Linked DNA regions of Homo sapiens: all the other regions are linked to region 3. The links are contacts of gene promoters, found by promoter capture Hi-C in human tissues and cell types (Jung and others, 2019). All regions are on one chromosome and are shown on one strand. Each heading gives the region's core, a stretch centred on a gene start or on the middle of the fragment in contact. The rest is flanking DNA. Distances are from core to core; before and after follow the strand shown. Region 1 holds the start of SENP5 (SUMO specific peptidase 5). Region 2 has its middle 26 kb from the start of LINC00885. Region 3 holds the start of RNF168 (ring finger protein 168). Region 4 overlaps SENP5 (SUMO specific peptidase 5).

The links. Contacts are between HindIII fragments. The study calls those that stand out against the background at their distance.
Region 1: the fragment with the promoter of SENP5 here is called in contact with the fragment with the promoter of RNF168 in region 3 in 1 of the 25 tissues and cell types used here (dorsolateral prefrontal cortex).
Region 2: a fragment that was not itself captured here is called in contact with the fragment with the promoter of RNF168 in region 3 in 2 of the 25 tissues and cell types used here (lymphoblastoid cells and thymus).
Region 4: a fragment that was not itself captured here is called in contact with the fragment with the promoter of RNF168 in region 3 in 1 of the 25 tissues and cell types used here (IMR-90 fibroblasts).

The regions. Positions count from the first base shown.
Region 1 is chr3:196,865,726-196,869,967 of GRCh38, forward strand. SENP5 (SUMO specific peptidase 5) reads left to right here and starts at 2,195. Exons shown (of 10, transcript NM_152699.5): 1 at 2,195-2,348. RefSeq lists a silencer at 1,972-2,551 and an enhancer at 3,203-3,704. The HindIII fragment of the contact is 4,194 bases long and covers 690-4,242 here.
Region 2 is chr3:196,114,106-196,118,235 of GRCh38, forward strand. No RefSeq gene overlaps it. Among named protein-coding and RNA genes, the nearest start is that of LINC00885, 26 kb to the right of the region's middle. RefSeq lists a silencer at 3,883-3,932. The HindIII fragment of the contact is 5,653 bases long and covers 1-4,130 here.
Region 3 is chr3:196,502,436-196,506,506 of GRCh38, forward strand. RNF168 (ring finger protein 168) reads right to left here and starts at 1,333. Exons shown (of 6, transcript NM_152617.4): 1 at 438-1,333. The coding sequence starts at 738. LOC105374307 (a long non-coding RNA gene) reads left to right here and starts at 2,917. Exons shown (of 3, transcript XR_924897.3): 1 at 2,917-3,776; 2 at 3,892-3,996. RefSeq lists enhancers at 1-127, 128-811, 463-532, 573-662 and a silencer at 1,283-1,582. The HindIII fragment of the contact is 9,103 bases long and covers 1-4,071 here.
Region 4 is chr3:196,922,546-196,926,791 of GRCh38, forward strand. SENP5 (SUMO specific peptidase 5) reads left to right here. Exons shown (of 10, transcript NM_152699.5): 7 at 869-1,006. Among named protein-coding and RNA genes, the nearest start is that of NCBP2-AS1, 15 kb to the right of the region's middle. The HindIII fragment of the contact is 3,504 bases long and covers 380-3,883 here.

The sequences.
Region 1 (4,242 bases), core at 945-3,444, 360 kb after region 3:
AATATTTAAAATTAAGAACTCAATGTATAGATTTAACAGCAGATTGGAGATTATAGAAGATAGACTCAATAACCTGAAAAACAGAAAACCTTCAAACTGAATAATTGAAAAAAAAATTGACATCACAAAGTGTAAAAGACACGGTGAACAAGATCAAATAATCTTACATATGGGCTGGGTGCCGTGGCTCATGCCTGTAATCCCAGCACTTTGGGAGGCTGAGGCAGGTGGATCACCGGAGGTCAGGAGTTGAAGACCGGCCTGACCAACATGGTGAAACCCTATCTCTACTAAAAATACAAAAATTAGCCGGGCGTGGTGGTGGGCGCTTGTAATTCTGGCTACTCGATAATAATACTATTATAATAGTATTATCTACCTCAGTAGATAATACTGCTGAGGCAGGATTATCGCTTGAACCCGGGAGGCAGAGGCAGAGGTTGCAGTGAGACGAGATTGCGCCACTGCACTCCAGCTTGAGCAAAAAGAGTGAAACTCTGTCTCAATAATAATAATAATAATCTTACATATGTAATTGGTGTCTCGGAGAACAGGCATAGAGAATGCAGCAAAAACCATATCTGAAGAGATAATGATTGAGAATTTCTCAAAACTGATGCAAGACATCTACCCACAAATCAGAGAAACTCAATGATATCCAAGACAGATAAATACAAAGAAAACAAAGATAGGGCACAAAATAAATGGCTAAAAATCACTAACAGGCTGGGTGCGGTGGCTCACGCCTGTAATCCCAGCACTTTGGGGGGCTGAGGCGGGCAGATCACGAGGTCAGGAGATCGAGATTATCCTGGCTAACTTGGTGAAACCCGGTCTCTACTAAAGAAATACAAAAAAAATTAGCCAAGCGTGGTGGTGGACGCCTGTAGTCCCAGCTACTCAGGAGGCTGAGGCAGGAGAATGGCGTGAACCCGGGAGGCAGAGCTTGCAGTGAGCCGAGATGGCGCCACTGCACTGCAGCCTGGGCGACAGAGCGACACTCCTCTAAAAAAAAAAAAAAAATCACTGACAAAGAGAAACTGTTAAAAAGAAGTGAGAGGGCCTGGTGTGGTGGTTCACGCCTGTAATTCGAGCACTGTGGGAGGCCCAGGTGGGAGGATCACTTGAGCTCAGGGGTTCAAGACCAGCCTGGGCAACATAGGGAGATGTCATCGCTACAAAAATAATGATAGTAATAGTAATAAAAAATTAGCCGGGCGTGGTGCAGGAGCCTGTGGTCGCAGGTACCCTGGAAGATGAGGTGGGAGGATCGCTTGAGCCCAGGAGGCAGAGGTTACAGCGAGCCTAGGGTGTGCCACGGCACTCCGGCTTGGGCGAGACAGCAAGACCCTGTTTGGAAAAAAAAAAAAAAGAAAAGAAAAAAGAAAAAAAAATCAACAGTAATTGCAGCCATTGCTTAGAACTAAGACTAAACAAAGCTTTTGTTTGGAAAGGAGTACTTTTTCATTAACATTGTTTAGAATTTTCTGACACATGATGATAATTAAAAGCAAACCATCCTGCAGTTGGCTTCGGTATTGTTTTTATCTTCTCCACCATCAATGCATATCCTTACTGCCTACACAGGCTCTCAGCAACGCACTGTTGGTTTTCCATTGCAGTCACCTCCACTTTATTCTTCCAGATCGAGTATGTTCAAAACTGAACTCATCTTCCGCCATAAATCTGCTATTATTATGTTTTTGCCTGTCAGGACATCGGCTTATAATTTTGGAAAGCATTCACAGTTGGGGCGGGTAAGACATAGATAAAGAGGCCAATCACAATACCAGGGGTAAGATCAATAGGAAAACCAGAGAGCGGACGCCTGGGCCAGGCCTCACAACGTCCAGAGCTGGAATGGGTCTTTTGCTTTCGGCGCAGGGGTGACGGGATCAGCGGAGGGTAGGGGTGTACACTAGCTGCGGTCTGATTTAGCCCTTTTAGGTTAAAAGCTGGAGAAGGGGCTGAAGTCTCAAACGCGCTTAGCAGCTCCTGAACGCGGTTCCCATCCCAGCGCGTTCTGAGGGAGGCCGGGGCTAAGGACGCGGTGACGGGCGGGGGCGGGGCGGCCCCGGGTCGGGAGGCGGGGCGGGAGCGCCGGAAGCGGGCGGTGCCAGGCCCAGCCTCGCAGGCGGAAGGGCGCGGAGGAGGTGACGCGATAGGCCAGCGCCGGCGTCGCGGCAGCCGCTTCAGAGGAAGCTCGGCGGCTGTGGCCGCGGCGAACAGGCCGGACGCCTCGTCGCTGGCGGGGCTTCCCTTGGAGCTGACGAAGGCGGGGTCCGCGGTCCAGGCTGCTGCCGCGACGGGGCCGGCGGCGGGGCAGCTGCCAGGAACGAGGGTAGCAGGTAAGCGGGGACGCGGGCAGACGAGTGACGGACTCAGCGATCGCCTGGCGGGGCTGGCTGGGGCCATTCCCGCGCCGGTGCGCCACCTCAGCGCCCGGTCCGGAGGCCTCGAGCCGCCCTCCCCCGCCCGAGCTGGAGGCCGCCGTCCGTCTCGGCCACAGCCTCCCTTTCCGGGGGAGGCGAGCGAGCTCGTCCCGAGGGGCCGCTGCCCTGCGCTCTCGCTCCAGCCGGGCTGTGCGTCGCAGGCACCGGGAAGCTGGCGCCCCCCAGCTCCTCCTGAAGCCGGGAAAGCTCTGAGAGGAGGAGCCGCTGTCACAGGCCTCCAGCTCCGGCCGCCGTGGAAGTCCGGGGTTTTTATTTGCTTAGACCGCTCTGCCTCCTTCCGGCCTTCGTTTCTTTCCTCGCGCTCCCCGGGACCCTTTTCCAGAGAGCCCGGTTGGGCATGAGCGCGGTGGGAGACGTCTTTTCCCTTCGGTCTGCTCTGAGCGGTATCAGCCTCCGCTCTACGCCCTGTGGCCACTCTGTCGGGGTGGAGGGATGCGGAGAGGATGTGGGAGTTTTGGACTTAGAGCGAGAATAGCCGAGGTGAAATCCTACCCTGCTCTCTGGTAGTGTTTTTCATCTCATGCTAGATAGACATTTCGACCTTTTTCACCGCAGGTAAAGTGGGACTTTCTTCTACCAATGTAAATTATAATGTTTGGAGAATTAAATGAAGAAAGCAGACGTTAGTTATGAAATGTTTTGAGAATCTGGTTAAATTTAATTTAAGAATATCCAGGACACTTCATGATAGGTTCCTACTTATGTTTTTTTTTTGCATTTTGCCCGGAATAACTAAGCTTGGTATGGAAAAGGTTGCCTAGAGATGCCAGGCGCTCGTGTGGTCAGAGCCTAACTGCAGTCTCTGTTTTGGGTGGGCAGCATCAGGAAGAAACCAGACTCTCTCCTAGCCATCCACATGTCTCACGCTTATTGATGGCATATTATTGGTATATGAGGGATGGCTTATATCAGTTTTGATCTTTACTCAAGATAGCTTTTTCCCAGTGCATCTTTTCTAGGAGAAAAGCTTGGTATGTAGAGGAGGGTGCTGGGGAGGGGGGCTTCATTTACACCTGGGCTCACAATTTTTTTTTGGAGGGGGGACAGGGTCTCACTCTGACACCCAGCCTGGAGTGCAGTGGCGCGATCTTTTCAGCTCACTGCAACCTCCTCCTCCCAGGTTCAAGCGATTCTCCTGCCTCAGCCTCCAGAGTAGCTGGGATTACAGGTGCCCGCCATCGCGCCCGGCTAATTTTTGTATTTTTAGTAGACATGGGGTTTCACCATGTTGGCCAGGCTGGTCTCGACCTCCTGACCTCAAGTGATCTACCTGCTTCCGCCTCTCAAAAGTGCTGGGATCAGCCGGGCGCGGTGGTTGACGCCTGTAATCCCAGCACTTTGGGAGGCCGAGGCGGGCAGATCACCTGAGGTCGGGAGTTCGAGATCAGCCTAACCAACATGGTGAAACCCCATCTCTACTAAAAATACAAAATTAGCCAGGCGTGGTGGCGCATGCCTGTAATCCCAGCTACTCGGAAGGCTGAGGCAGGAGACTAGCTTGAACCCGGGAGGCGAGGTTGTGGTGAGCTGAGATAGTGCCATTACACTCCAGCCTGGGCAACAAGAGCAAAACTCCGTCTCAAAAAAAAAAAAAAAAAAAAAAAAAGGTGCTGGGATTACAGGAGTGAGTCACTGCGCCTGGGCTATATTACTTTCTAAATCAGCCTTTTTTTTTTTTTTTGGTAGGCCATTATGTGAATCCTTCAAAAATCATAGAAAAATTGAAATTTAACAATATTTTGCTTTTATTCTAGCTTGTCATAAACCCAGTGCTCTATACACAGGCCTG
Region 2 (4,130 bases), core at 104-2,603, 390 kb before region 3:
CAGCACTTTGGGAGGCCGAGACAGGTGGATCACGAGGTCAGGAGATCGAGACCATCCTGGCTAACACAGTGAAACCCCGTCTCTACTAAAAATACAAAAAATTAGCCGGGTGTGGTGGCGGGCGCCTGTAGTCCCAGCTACTCGGGAGGCTGAGGCAGGAGAATGGTGTGAACCCGGGAGGCAGAGCTTGCAGTAAGCCGAGATTGCGCTACTGCACTCCAGCCTGGGCAACAGAGCGAGACTGTCTCAAAAAAAAAAAAAGAAGTGTCTTTTCTTTTTTCTTTTTTCTTTTTGAGACAGGGTCTCACTCACCCAGGCTGGAGTGCAGTGGCGTGAACTTGGGAGCCTCGACATCTGGGCTCAAGCCATCCTCCCACCTCAGCCTCCCGAATAGCTGGGACTACAGGCACACACCATCACACCCACCCTGCTAATTTATATTTTGTAGAGACAGGATTTTACCATGTTTCCCAGGCTGGTCTTGAAGTCCCAGGCTCAACTGATCAGCCCACCTTGGCCTCCCAAATTGCTGAGATTACAGACGTGAGCCTCTGCGCCTGCCCAAAGCAGCTGTTCTTTTGCAAGGATTTATTGGTCTGTGGTGCCTCTCCCTCAGTACCCTTGCGTGGTTCTTTTCTTTTTTTCTTTTTTGTTTACTGGAGCTACCCACCATGAACTATTGGTTGGTTATTTATAAAAATATGTTTAGGTTTATGCACATCATTATATTTATTTGCCCACGTGGGCCCCTTGAGCATCAGAGCTTCCTAAAGCAGGATCTTTGCAGGCCATCTCATCCCTCCTCATCATGTATGGATACACAAACCGAGGTCCATTGAGTCCTTTTGAAGAAGGATAGCTGCAGCTAGCTGAAGGCCAAGGCAGGTGGATCACTTGAGCCCACGAGGTTGAGGCTGCAATAAGCTGTGTTCTTGCCACTGAGAGAGAGACTCTGCCTTAAAAAAAAGTGCAAGCTGCAAAGTGGTTGCCTTTTGCTGAGGAGGTGGGTACTGGGAGCAGCAGGAATTGACTGGAAAGAGGCATGAGGACACGTTCCTTTTTTTCCCTTTTTTATTTTTTATTTTATTTTTTGAGACAGTCTCGCTCTGTCACCCAGGTTGGAGTGCAATGGTGCGATCTTGGCTCACTGCAACCTCCACCTCCCAGGTTCGAGTAATTCTCCTGCTTCAGCCTCCTGAGTAGCTGGGATTACAGGTGCATGCCACCATGCCAACTAATTTTTGTTCCCTTTTCTATTTTTTACATGTAATAATTATATATATATATATGTATGTATTTTTTAAGTGCTATTTTTGTTGCATTAAGAGTATGGCTCCCCAGGGACCACAAAGGCCTTTTAGAAGCCTCCGTATGTATTTATAGGTTATCAACAACAACAACAACAAAAAAACCTCTGCTGAAACATACGCAATAGTGATTTAAGAAGAAAAGGAATTTTTCACATTGGATGAGAAAGAACTTCCCAAGTTAGTTGCCTTTACAAATTCAAACATGACGGGCTATCGGCTTGGAGTGTTTTTTAAGAGTGACGATGGGAGGCTTATGGTAAGCCCATTGTTTGACGTGACCCAAGCATGGCCTGGTTAATTTTGACCATGCTCACAGCAGTGGTAGAAGCAACTAGCCACACAGTACCGTACTTGTTCTGAAACACCCATCTCTACTTGTGAAAAAGTAGAGGATCATTGAAGGATCTTAAGAAAAATTTCTGGACCATAGCATATCTCTGCAGCAAAAGAAAAGTAACATATTTGAATGTAAACAAAAACCTGAGACTCACCCCCACACCCCAATGCTCACCACACTCATAAGAAAGGAAGTGAGAATGGGAACCCCCAAAGGCCCACAGAACCTATATACAACTGTCTTTCTCTGTGAAAACAGATCAGCCCCAGAACCTCTATACGCCTCTCTATGTGAAAACAATAAATCAGCCCCAGAACCTATATACACTTGTCTTTCTCTGTGAAAACAATGAATCAGCCCCAGAACCTATATACGCCTCTCTTTCTATGTGAAAACAATAAATCAGCCCCAGAACCTATACACGCCTCTCTTTCTATGTGAAAACAATAAATCAGCCAGAGAACCTATATACGCCTCTCTTTCTATGTGAAAACAATAAATCAGCCCCAGAACCTATACACACCTCTCTTTCTATGTGAAAACAATAAATCAGCCAGAGAACCTATATACGCCTCTCTTTCGATATGAGAACAATAAATCAGCCACAGAACCTATATATGCCTCTCTTTCTATGTGAGAACAATAAATCAGTCACAGAACCTATATACACCTCTCTATGTGAAAACGATAAATCAGCCAAAGAACCTATATACGCCTCTCTTTCTCTGTGAAAACAATAAATCAGCCCCAGAACCTATATATGCCTCTCTTTCTCTGTGAAAACAATAAATCAGCCAGAGAACCTATATATGCCTCTCTTTCTCTGTGAAAACAATAAATCAGCCAGAGAACGTATATACGCATCTCTTTCTATGTGAAAACAATAAATCAGCCCCAGAACCTATATGCGCCTCTCTTTCTATGTGAAAACAATAAATCAGCCCCAGAACCTATATACGCCTCTCTTTCTATGTAAATACGATAGATCAGGATGCCAGAAAATATGTGATTGTCCCCTTCACATTACCTTCCTAATTAATGATTCAAAACTTTAGCAATCCATAATTTTATTTTTTTTCCTTATACAGGGCCTACCCTGCTTCTAGATAATCCCACAACAGATACTAAATAAAACCTTACACAATTGAATTGAAGGAAGTAAGCTTTGTTTGTGTAGTACCTGAGTGAGTTTAGAGAGTACAAACATTGCCCATAACTGAGTATAATAGATATCACAAGCATCTTCCCTATATCACCTCAAACATAAAAATAAAATGCCAGGAGATTTAACGATGTGAATGGGAAAGTCCAAATTATAAGCCTTTTAGAAAAAAACTAAATAGAAAAGTATCTTATTACGTTGGGATAGTAAATGATTTTTTCCTTTCCCACCCCCCACTTTTTTTTTTTTTTGTTGGCAGCCTCCTGAGCCAGAGTAGGCTCAGAGACTCCAGTTTTTTGTGTTTTTGTTTGTTTGTGTTTTGAGACAGAGTCTTGCTCTGTCACCCAGGCTGGAGTGCAGTGGCGTGATCTTGGCTCACTGCAACCTCTGCCTTGTGGGTTTAAGCGATTCTCCTGCCTCAGCCTCCCGAGTAGCTGGGATTACAGGCACCCACCACTACACCCAGCTAATTTTTTGTATTTTTAGTAGAGACGGGGTTTCACCATGTTGGCCAGGCTGGTCTCGATGGTCTCCTGACCTTGTGATCTCCCTGCCTCATGATCCCTCACCCTCCCAAAGTGCTGGGATTACAGGTGTGAGCCACCGCGCCCGGCCCTGTTTTTGTTTTTAAGTAGAGATGGACCTCGGCCTCGCAAAATGCTGGGATTACAGTTGTGAGCCACCATGCCTGGCTGGAAGTGATTTTCAAAATCAGACATAAAATGTGCAAGCCATACAAGAAAATTATTGATAAATTTTATTCTATTAAAACTCAGAATTGATATTTATTAAAAGATTCCATAAAGAAAGCAAAAATCAAGCTACAAACATTTTAACATACATAATCAAAAAATTATTTGCATACAAAATATGTTCTAATTCTTTAAACCATTTATGTGTGTTATATACACTATTCTGAAAACAAAAACCAGCACCCAAGACAGACAAAGCGTGTGGAGCTAGTGTGGCTAAGTTGAGGCGGGAAATTAATGCTGCAACAAAGTTACTGACTGTCTCCAACCTGTTTTGTGGTGTTACACATGGGCATAATAATAGCTCCTTCCTCATAAGGCTCTCGGAGCTATAAACCACAGTGTGTCTAAAATACCTTGCCCAGGGTCTGGCGCATGGCAAGAGCTCAACCAATGGTGAATGGTTGGAACTATAAATAAATAATCGTGTCAGAGCCGAGTGGGAATCAAACTCAGCTCCTTAAGTCCTCCATGACCTAGACAGGATTGTTCCAGACCATGTGGCAGAAGTTAAGGGGCCTTGGTGATGAAGGCAAGAATGCCCACACTGTTTCTCCTGTTCCTCCCTC
Region 3 (4,071 bases), core at 83-2,582:
AAATTCCCCGGGCGTGATGGTGCACGCGTGTAACCCCAGCTACTCGGGAGGCTGAGGCAGGAGAATCGCTTGAAACCGGGAGGCGGAGGTTGCAGGGAGCCGAGATCGCGCCACTGCACTCCAGCCTGGAGGACGGAGCGAGATCCTGTCTCAAAAAAAAAAAAAAGAAGGCTCCAGACGGGCAATTCTTTAATTTTTAACACAACAAACACCCATCGAACACAGCGCGGGCATTTTGACAATGGACAAAATCTTGCCCTTGACTTTATAATCCATCGACATTTGGGGACCCATAAACCCCCTAACCTCTGAGAACTATTTAGACAAATACTAGTCGGGTTTTTTGGTTTGTTTTTACTTTTTAAATGGAAAAGTGATGATTCACCTTTTCAAAGACTTGCGGCTTTTGGCCAACAAACACGCCATGGTTTACTCACCCACTTCCTCTGATTCTTGGCCAGACGCTCTAAGCTTGCACTCCCTGGGATAGTGTTTTTGAATTATCGTCCACAGTTCCACGTTGACGAGAGAATTTCTTCGGGTATGGTACCGAGTCCACGACGATACCCGGCGGCGACAGAAGGGACAGCATAAACTCGCCTTTTCGACGGTCGACTGGAAGCACGGTTTACACAGCGTGTGGTTACACGGGAGGGTGACGGGCTCCACGAGGATTTCCATGCAGATCCCGCACTGGCACTCGGACAGCGAGGGGATGGCGTCTTTGGGTAGAGCCATTTCAATATGTTAGTAAAGCCGACTAAACAACGACACCTGCACGAAAAAGAATCCTATTTTCGGCCAACCACAGAGAGAGCAAAAGCAGTTTTGTGTTTCAGTATTATGCCCAGAAGCGTATCAGAATTCGGAGAACAGGAGCATCCAACACGTCTTGAAGCAAAAAGGCGCTCTCAGGGTCAGGCAAACAGGAATACCCCGGAGGGCGGCGTCTTTGTCCATTTTCAAGGCAAACGTCCCGCCAGCAAATAAATGCAGGTTTTCGTCGGAGGAGCCTGGCTGCTCCGCGGCATGAACACCGCGGCTGCGGCTCCCGGGGCAGCGAGGGGAACGCGCCAAGTCCTCTCCTCCCCTCACCCGGAAAGGATGCTCCGCTCAGCTCGGGGCAGCCGGGCCCCGGGACGCGGCTCCGGGAGGAAGCCCGGGCTCCGGCTGCAGCATAACTTCCGCTTTACCGCTGCTGCGGGGGAGACGCGCGACTCCCGTGTTCACCTTTCGGGCGCCTGGCGCAGTTTCCCAGAGCTCCGCGCCCCCGTCCCTCCTACGCAGCCAGAAACCCTATTCGTTGCGGCAGCGCAGCAGCCACCGGACAAGCGCTAGCAACGTCACAACCGCCCGCCAAAATCGCACTTCCCACCCAGAAAACTGCCCAAGGGCGAACGTTCCCGGGGCGGGACTTCCGGGGTCTGCGCGCCGCCCGCCCTCCCTCCCAGCCGGAGACGGTCCCGCCCTGGCGTCGCAGCCCCGCCTAGTGCAGCCTGGGTGGAGCCTGACCTTTCCCTGAGATTTCTGCGAGGCCTCAGACACCCCTGGTTTCTTGGTTTCTGGGTAGAAAAAGGGAAACCTCAAAACAAAATCAACAGCCAAACAAGGCCGGGTGCGGTGGCTCACGCCTGTAATCCCAGCACTTCGGGAGGCCGAGGCGGGCGGATCACCTGAGGTCAGGAGTTCAAGACCAGCCTGGCCAACATGGTGAAACCCCCGTCCTTACTAAAAATACAAAAATTAGCTGGGCATTGTGACAAGCTCCTGCAATTCCAGCTACTCAGGAGGCTGAGACAGGAGAATCGCTAAACCTGGGAGGCAGAGGCTGCAGTGAGCCGAGATTGTGCCACTGCACTCCAGCCTGGGGGACAGAGCAAAATTCCACCTCAAAAAATACAAATAAATAAATAGATAAAAGAATTGGGGTCTCACTGTTTTATCCAGGCTGGACTACAACTCCAGGGTTCCAGGGATTCTTTCGCCTCAGCCTCTGGAGTAGCTGGGTCTAGAGCTTGCAACTCCATAGCCAGCTCCGGACCTGCATTTTTTGAGGGAATCAATCAGTGTGAAGGAAGAGAAAAGAAAATCACTGTGCGTGAAAGCAGCCTTTAAGTTGTTTTGAGGCTGCTGAGAGCATTCAGGCTGGGTAGGGGATGGTTTCCAGGTTGAGAACAACGAGGAGACATCGGTCGTTGGTAGAAGTCTTTGGGAACTTTCATTTCAATGTGGGTTCAGAAACCTGTTATTGTCTGTGATAGCTCACACCTGTAGTCCCAGCACTTTGGAAGGCCAAGGCGGGAAGATCAGTGGAGCCCAGGAGTTCAGGTCCAGCCTGGGCAACATAGTGAGACCCTGTCTCTACAAAAAATAAAAAAATTAACTCGGTGTGCTGGCTCACACTTATACTCTCAGCTACTCTGGTGGCTGAGGTGGGAGGATCACTTGAGCCCAGGAGGTCAAGGCTGCAGTGAACAGTGATCGTACCACTGCACCCCAGCCTGGGTGACAGGGCAAGACCCTGTCTCAAAAAAAAGAAAAAAAAAAGAAACCTGGGACTGTCATCTGGTTGTCTACAGTAACAGTACCTTAGCTTGGAATTTCAGGCTTGTTTTTTGTTCGTTTGTTTGTTTTTTTGAGATGGCTCCTCATTCTGTTGCCCAGGTTGGAGTGCAGTGGTTTGATCTCAGCTTACTGCAACCTCCACCTCCTGGGTTCAAGCGATTCTCATGCCTCAGCCTCCCGAGTAGCTGCAATTACAGGCGCGTGCCTTGTAATACCACGTGCATTGTAATACCACGCCTGGCAAATTTTTGTATTCTTAGTAGAGATGGGGTTTCACCATGTTGGCCATGCTGGTCTCGAACTCCTGACCTCAGGTGATCCACCGGCCTTGGCCTTCCAAAGTGCTGGGATTACAGGCGTGAGCCACTGCACCTGGCCTTCAGGCTTCCTAATATGTCCACAACCTGCTTTTCCCATCGAATCTCCCATTATTCTTTTAAACATGCAACTATGATTTATTCTCTGTCATCCAAACGTTTTGCTTTCATGACATTGCTTTCTCGGTTCATCCTAAATGGGTTGCTTTGTGGCTGTGCCTACTTCAAACACCAATTTAATGCAGTTGGGCCAGGCACGGTGGCTCATGCCTGTAATCCCAGCACTTTGGGAGGCCAAGGAGGGCGGATCACAAGGTCAGGAGTTCGAGACCAGCCTGACCAACATGTTGAAACTCAGTCTCTACTAAAAATACAAAAATTAGCTGGGCATGGTGGCAGGTGCCTGTAATCCCAGCTAGTCGGGAGGCTGAGGCAGAAGAATTGCTTGAACCCGGGAGGCAGAGGTTGCAGTGAGGCCAGATTGCACCACTGCACTCCAGCCTGGGTTGACAGAGCAAGACTCCGTCTCGAAAAAAAAAAAAATTAATTCACTTCTTCCAGAGTGCACTTTTATGTGCAATTTAATGCACTCCCCACCACCAGTAATGCCCCTTTTCTAAACTCACCCAGTCATATATTGCCCAGTGATACTGATTTTTATTGCAGTTTTACTATTGAACTCCTGTATTTTGATTTCTATCTTCAGGTGCTTATGTCTTGTGTAATGGATATATTTCATGTACTTCCTCAGATTTCCTTCACTTTGTTTGCTTTCTGTACCCATAATCACTTGCTCTTTTTGGGGCTCACCAGTTGCATTTCCGGAATCTCTGGCTTCTCCTGCCACTTCTGAACAATGCAGGAGCTGACTTCTCAGAGGCTGCTAGGGCCTCGGTAATGCATGCTGGGAGGGTGGGGGGGTCACTCCCCATGGAGTAACTTTCACCAATTGAAACCAGTGGACTGACCGAGCACAATACTTAAATTCCCTTTTCTTCTTCCTTCCAAGGATGGTTTCTCCAGTGTGTCTGGAGACAGGCAAGACTGAGGGAGTGTGCCTGCTGAAAAAGCTGCTGTGTCTCTTGTGGCTCATTTTCAAGGAGGGGACAGCAAGGTAACACATCACCATGTATTACTTCACATCCTTCTCTACCTAACTTCCTTCCAGCTTTCTTCACTCTGGCTGTCC
Region 4 (4,246 bases), core at 882-3,381, 420 kb after region 3:
CTCAGTGATCCTGCTGCTTCAGCCTCCCAAGTAGCTGGGACTGCAGGCATGCACCACCACACCTGGCTGATTTTTTATTTATTTATTTTTCTTGAGACAAGGTCTGGCTCTGTCACCCAGGCTGGAGTGCAGTGGTGCAATCTCTGCTCAGTGCAACCTCCGCCTCCCAGGCTCAAGCCATCCTTTGAACCTCAGCCTACCAAGTAACTGCGACTACCAGTGCACACCACCACGCCCGGTTAGTTTTTGTATTTTTTTGTAGATACAGTGTTTCGCCATGTCACCCAGGCTGGTCCTGAACTCTTGAGCTCAAACCATCTGTTGGCCTCTCAAAGTGCTGGGATTACAGGCGTGAGCCACTGAGCCCGGCCTGATTTTTTATTTTTTTGTAGAGACAGAGTCTCATTATGTTGCCCAGGCTGGTCTCAAACTCCTGGGCTCAAGCAGTTTTTCCGCCTCAGCCTCCCAATGTACTGGGATTACAGGTGTGAGCCACCGTGCCTGGCCCCTTATACCATTTTCTAATACTATGATTCCTTTCTAAACAAGAGTTGAATCCAGGTTAAATATGTATATGAGAAAATGAGGTAAACAAGGAGCCAAGTCTTCAGGCACTTGACACACAGGTTTAGTAGATTAACTGGAAAACTGTACTTTGTATATCTTTATTTTTGTATTATTGTTGTGTATTATAGCTTAATAGTTACAAGCATGGGCTTAGAGTAAGACCTGGGTTCAAATTCTGGTTCATTGCTTCCTACTTTTTTGCCCTTGTGCAGGTCAAAGGTCAGCAAATGGAAGCTGCTGGTTTTTGGTGGTTTGGATAGCCTGTGGTGATGGCTGCATTTCTTTCTCTTTTCTTGATCAGGTGGATTTGTTTAAAAAGAGTCTTCTGTTGATTCCTATTCACCTGGAAGTCCACTGGTCTCTCATTACTGTGACACTCTCTAATCGAATTATTTCATTTTATGATTCCCAAGGCATTCATTTTAAGTTTTGTGTAGAGGTAAGTTAATATACTGCCTATTTTTTCATTTATTTTGTAATTGGCCAAATAGCATCTTAGCTCTAGATAGAACAGCAGCAGTCAAAACCATATAGGAACAGTTTATGTCATGAAAATCCTCCAAAGTGTTAGCTGAGAAAAGGACTAGAAGAGGAATCTCTGGCTGAGGAGAGGATCTGTCTAGGATCCAGATCCCCCTCTGAGATACTCCACTTGGATTTTCTCTGCTTTTCCCTTAAAACTACATCTTGAATGTGGTTAGAAATTGTTTTTCTTTGATCATCTTAGAGCTAAAATTGGCCTGTATCTGCAAAATAACTCCTGTAGAATAAACTATAACCTAATGGAATCAATTGACAAAATATTAGTGTTCAGCTAATAAACAGATGGTGGGATACAAAATCAAGAAAAATGAGTAGGTTTCCGGATTTTCCTGCACTACCAAGAACCAGTAAGAAAATGTAACTGGGAATAAGATTCCATTTATAAAAGAAACAAAACATAAATAACCCAGGAATATGCCCTAGGAAGAAATGTGGAAATTCTTTATTATGAAAACTCCTAAAGCTTTAAGTACTTAAAAGAAATCTGTACAAAACTGTAAAAGTATTTGAATGAAATATGGAAAATGTTATGTTCACAGAGTGGGGAAGGACTTCTTAACATGGAACCAAAGAAAAGACATAAGGAACAATTGGATAAATTTAACCACCTAATAATTTAAAACTTCTGTATATCATAAAGTTAAAGGACAAGCAACAGACTTGGAGAAAATATGTATGATGCAAATAACAGACAATAACTATCCAGAATACATGGAAAACTCCTACAAATGAATAAGGGGAGGATAAAAGGACATAATAGAAATGGACAAAGGCTAATTTAGTAAATTTTAGGAAAAATGCAAATGACCATTTAAAAACACAGAGAGGTGTTCAGCCTTACCAGAAATTATAGAAATGCAAATGAAAACTACATCAGTTAAATTTTTTGCCCATTATGTTAGAAAAAGTGATGCTATTCAAGTGTCTATGTAAGTGTAAGGAAATAGGCATTCTCATATTTTCTGGTTAGAGTGTATAAATTGATACAGCCGCTTGGGGATAGTTGCAGTTCTCATCAGTTCTAAGTGCTTTGTAAATTAAAAAGATACAAATTCTGTTGCATATCAGTTCCATTTCTTGTTATCTACTGCATAAAAATGCTTGTATATGCACACAAGAATGAGGCATGTGCGAGGATGTTCATGGCAGCATTATTTATAATAGTGCAAAATAAAACAACCCAAATTTAGCTCTAGCAAGAGAATAGCTAAATACACTATGGTACGGTATACCCATACTATTAAACTGACCATAGTAGTTAAATTGAATATAGTAGACCTTCAAGTCCTCAAATGGAAAGATGTCCAAGGCATAGAGCTTTAAAAAGCCAATTGTGGAATGATACGGTATAGTACACAAATACATGCAGGTGTATGTGTAGACACATATATACATACATATTTGTAAGTAAAAAGGTGGGACCTTACCATTTTTTATATCAATGATTATTACCTTTGGGTAAGTGTAGAAAAGCAGGACTAATAGTTAAAGAGGATTTGGCCTCATTTTGCGTTTTTTTTTTTACAAGGAGAATATTTTCTTGTATTATTTGTTTAATTAACATTTAATTTAAAAATTAAGTATAATGCAAACTATGAGGAAAATCAAGTTTTCGAAATCCACATTTTCATTTCCAAGAAATCCAGGAAAAAAAATACCCCAAAAACAAGAAGCCTCGTGGGCCCAGAGTTCTCACAATACCAGATGTGAGCGTCTTTTCCAGTTCCCTTCCCCTAATTCCTTGCCTTTCTCTCAACCAACATATTCCCATACCTGCCAGAGCCTGTCTATATTGTCTCTTTCCTAGACAGACCTGCAAAGGTATAACCAAAAGTGCAGCCATATCAGTGCCTTTAAGACTCAGATTCTGACAGGCAGAGGAGAGCAGAGGTGTTGGGAAAACTGTTTCAAGTAGGAACTATTTACTGTGCCTCTTGCTTTGTGCCAGGCACTGATGCTAGGGAGTCAGGTAGGGGCCAGAGAAACATTCGCCTTCATGGAGTGAATGATGGTTAAACAGGATTTTGTTTGTAAAACATGCAGTTGGGTTTAAGTCGATTTTGAATCATTAGGGCCTGGTTCTGCACAGTAATAAAAATTCATCTTCTGAATTTTTGCCCAAGCCCTCCTGCAGAGTTCTTACCTTTTCAGCAAAATTACAATTGGCCTAATAATTTTGCACATTTGCAAAAAGACCCTAAGAACAGACTCCTTTTAGGTGATAGCTAGAAGTCATTTAGAGCCAAATACAGTTCAGTCATCTGGCCAGGTGGGGTCAAGCTGTTTTTAGTTTTAAGAGGATGTAGGGGTTGTAGAAGTGGCTCTTAACTAAGGGGCCTGTATTTCCAAAGAATTGACAAAAAGTGTTTTAAACAGTCACCACATAAATGTGTAGATTCCATGACAGCAGAGACTACAAGAGCTTTATTCACTAGTGTCCCCAGCACTTGAACCCTTAGAGATGCTCAGTACATTTTGAGTGCCGGTGACCATTTTTAAGGACAAATCCTTTTTGCCTGTATTTTACTTAAGAATGTACATATACTGGCCGGGCAGGGTGGCTCACGCCTGTGATCCCAGCACTTTGGGAGGCTGAGGCGGGCGGATCAGAAGGTCAAGAGATAGAGACCAGCCTGGCCAACATGGTGAAACCCCGTCTCTATTAAAAATACAAAAATTAGCTGGGCATGGTGGTGCACGCCTGTAGTCCCAGCTACTCGGGAGGCTGAGGCAGGAGAATCGCTTGAACCTGGGAGGTGGAGGTTGCAGCGAGCCGAGATCGCACCACTACACTCTAGCCTGGGTAACAGAGCAAGACTCCGTCTCAAAAAAAAAAAAAAAAGAATTTATATATACTGCTTATTCTGAGAACTTGAAGTTACTTCTTTAGAGGGAGCAGTGCAACATGCTGTCATACTTTGTTGGATATTAAGTATTTGCTTTCATCATGTTTTTTCTTCTGAAGAGGTGGCTTCCAGTCCACCTTTTTTTTTTTTTTTTTGAGTCAGAGTCTCACTCTGTCCCCTGGGTTGGAGTGCAGTGGCCCAGTCTTGGCTCATGGCAACCTCCGCCTCCTGGGTTCAAGCGATTCTCATGTCTCAGCCTCTGGAGTAGCTGGGATTACAGGTGTGCACCA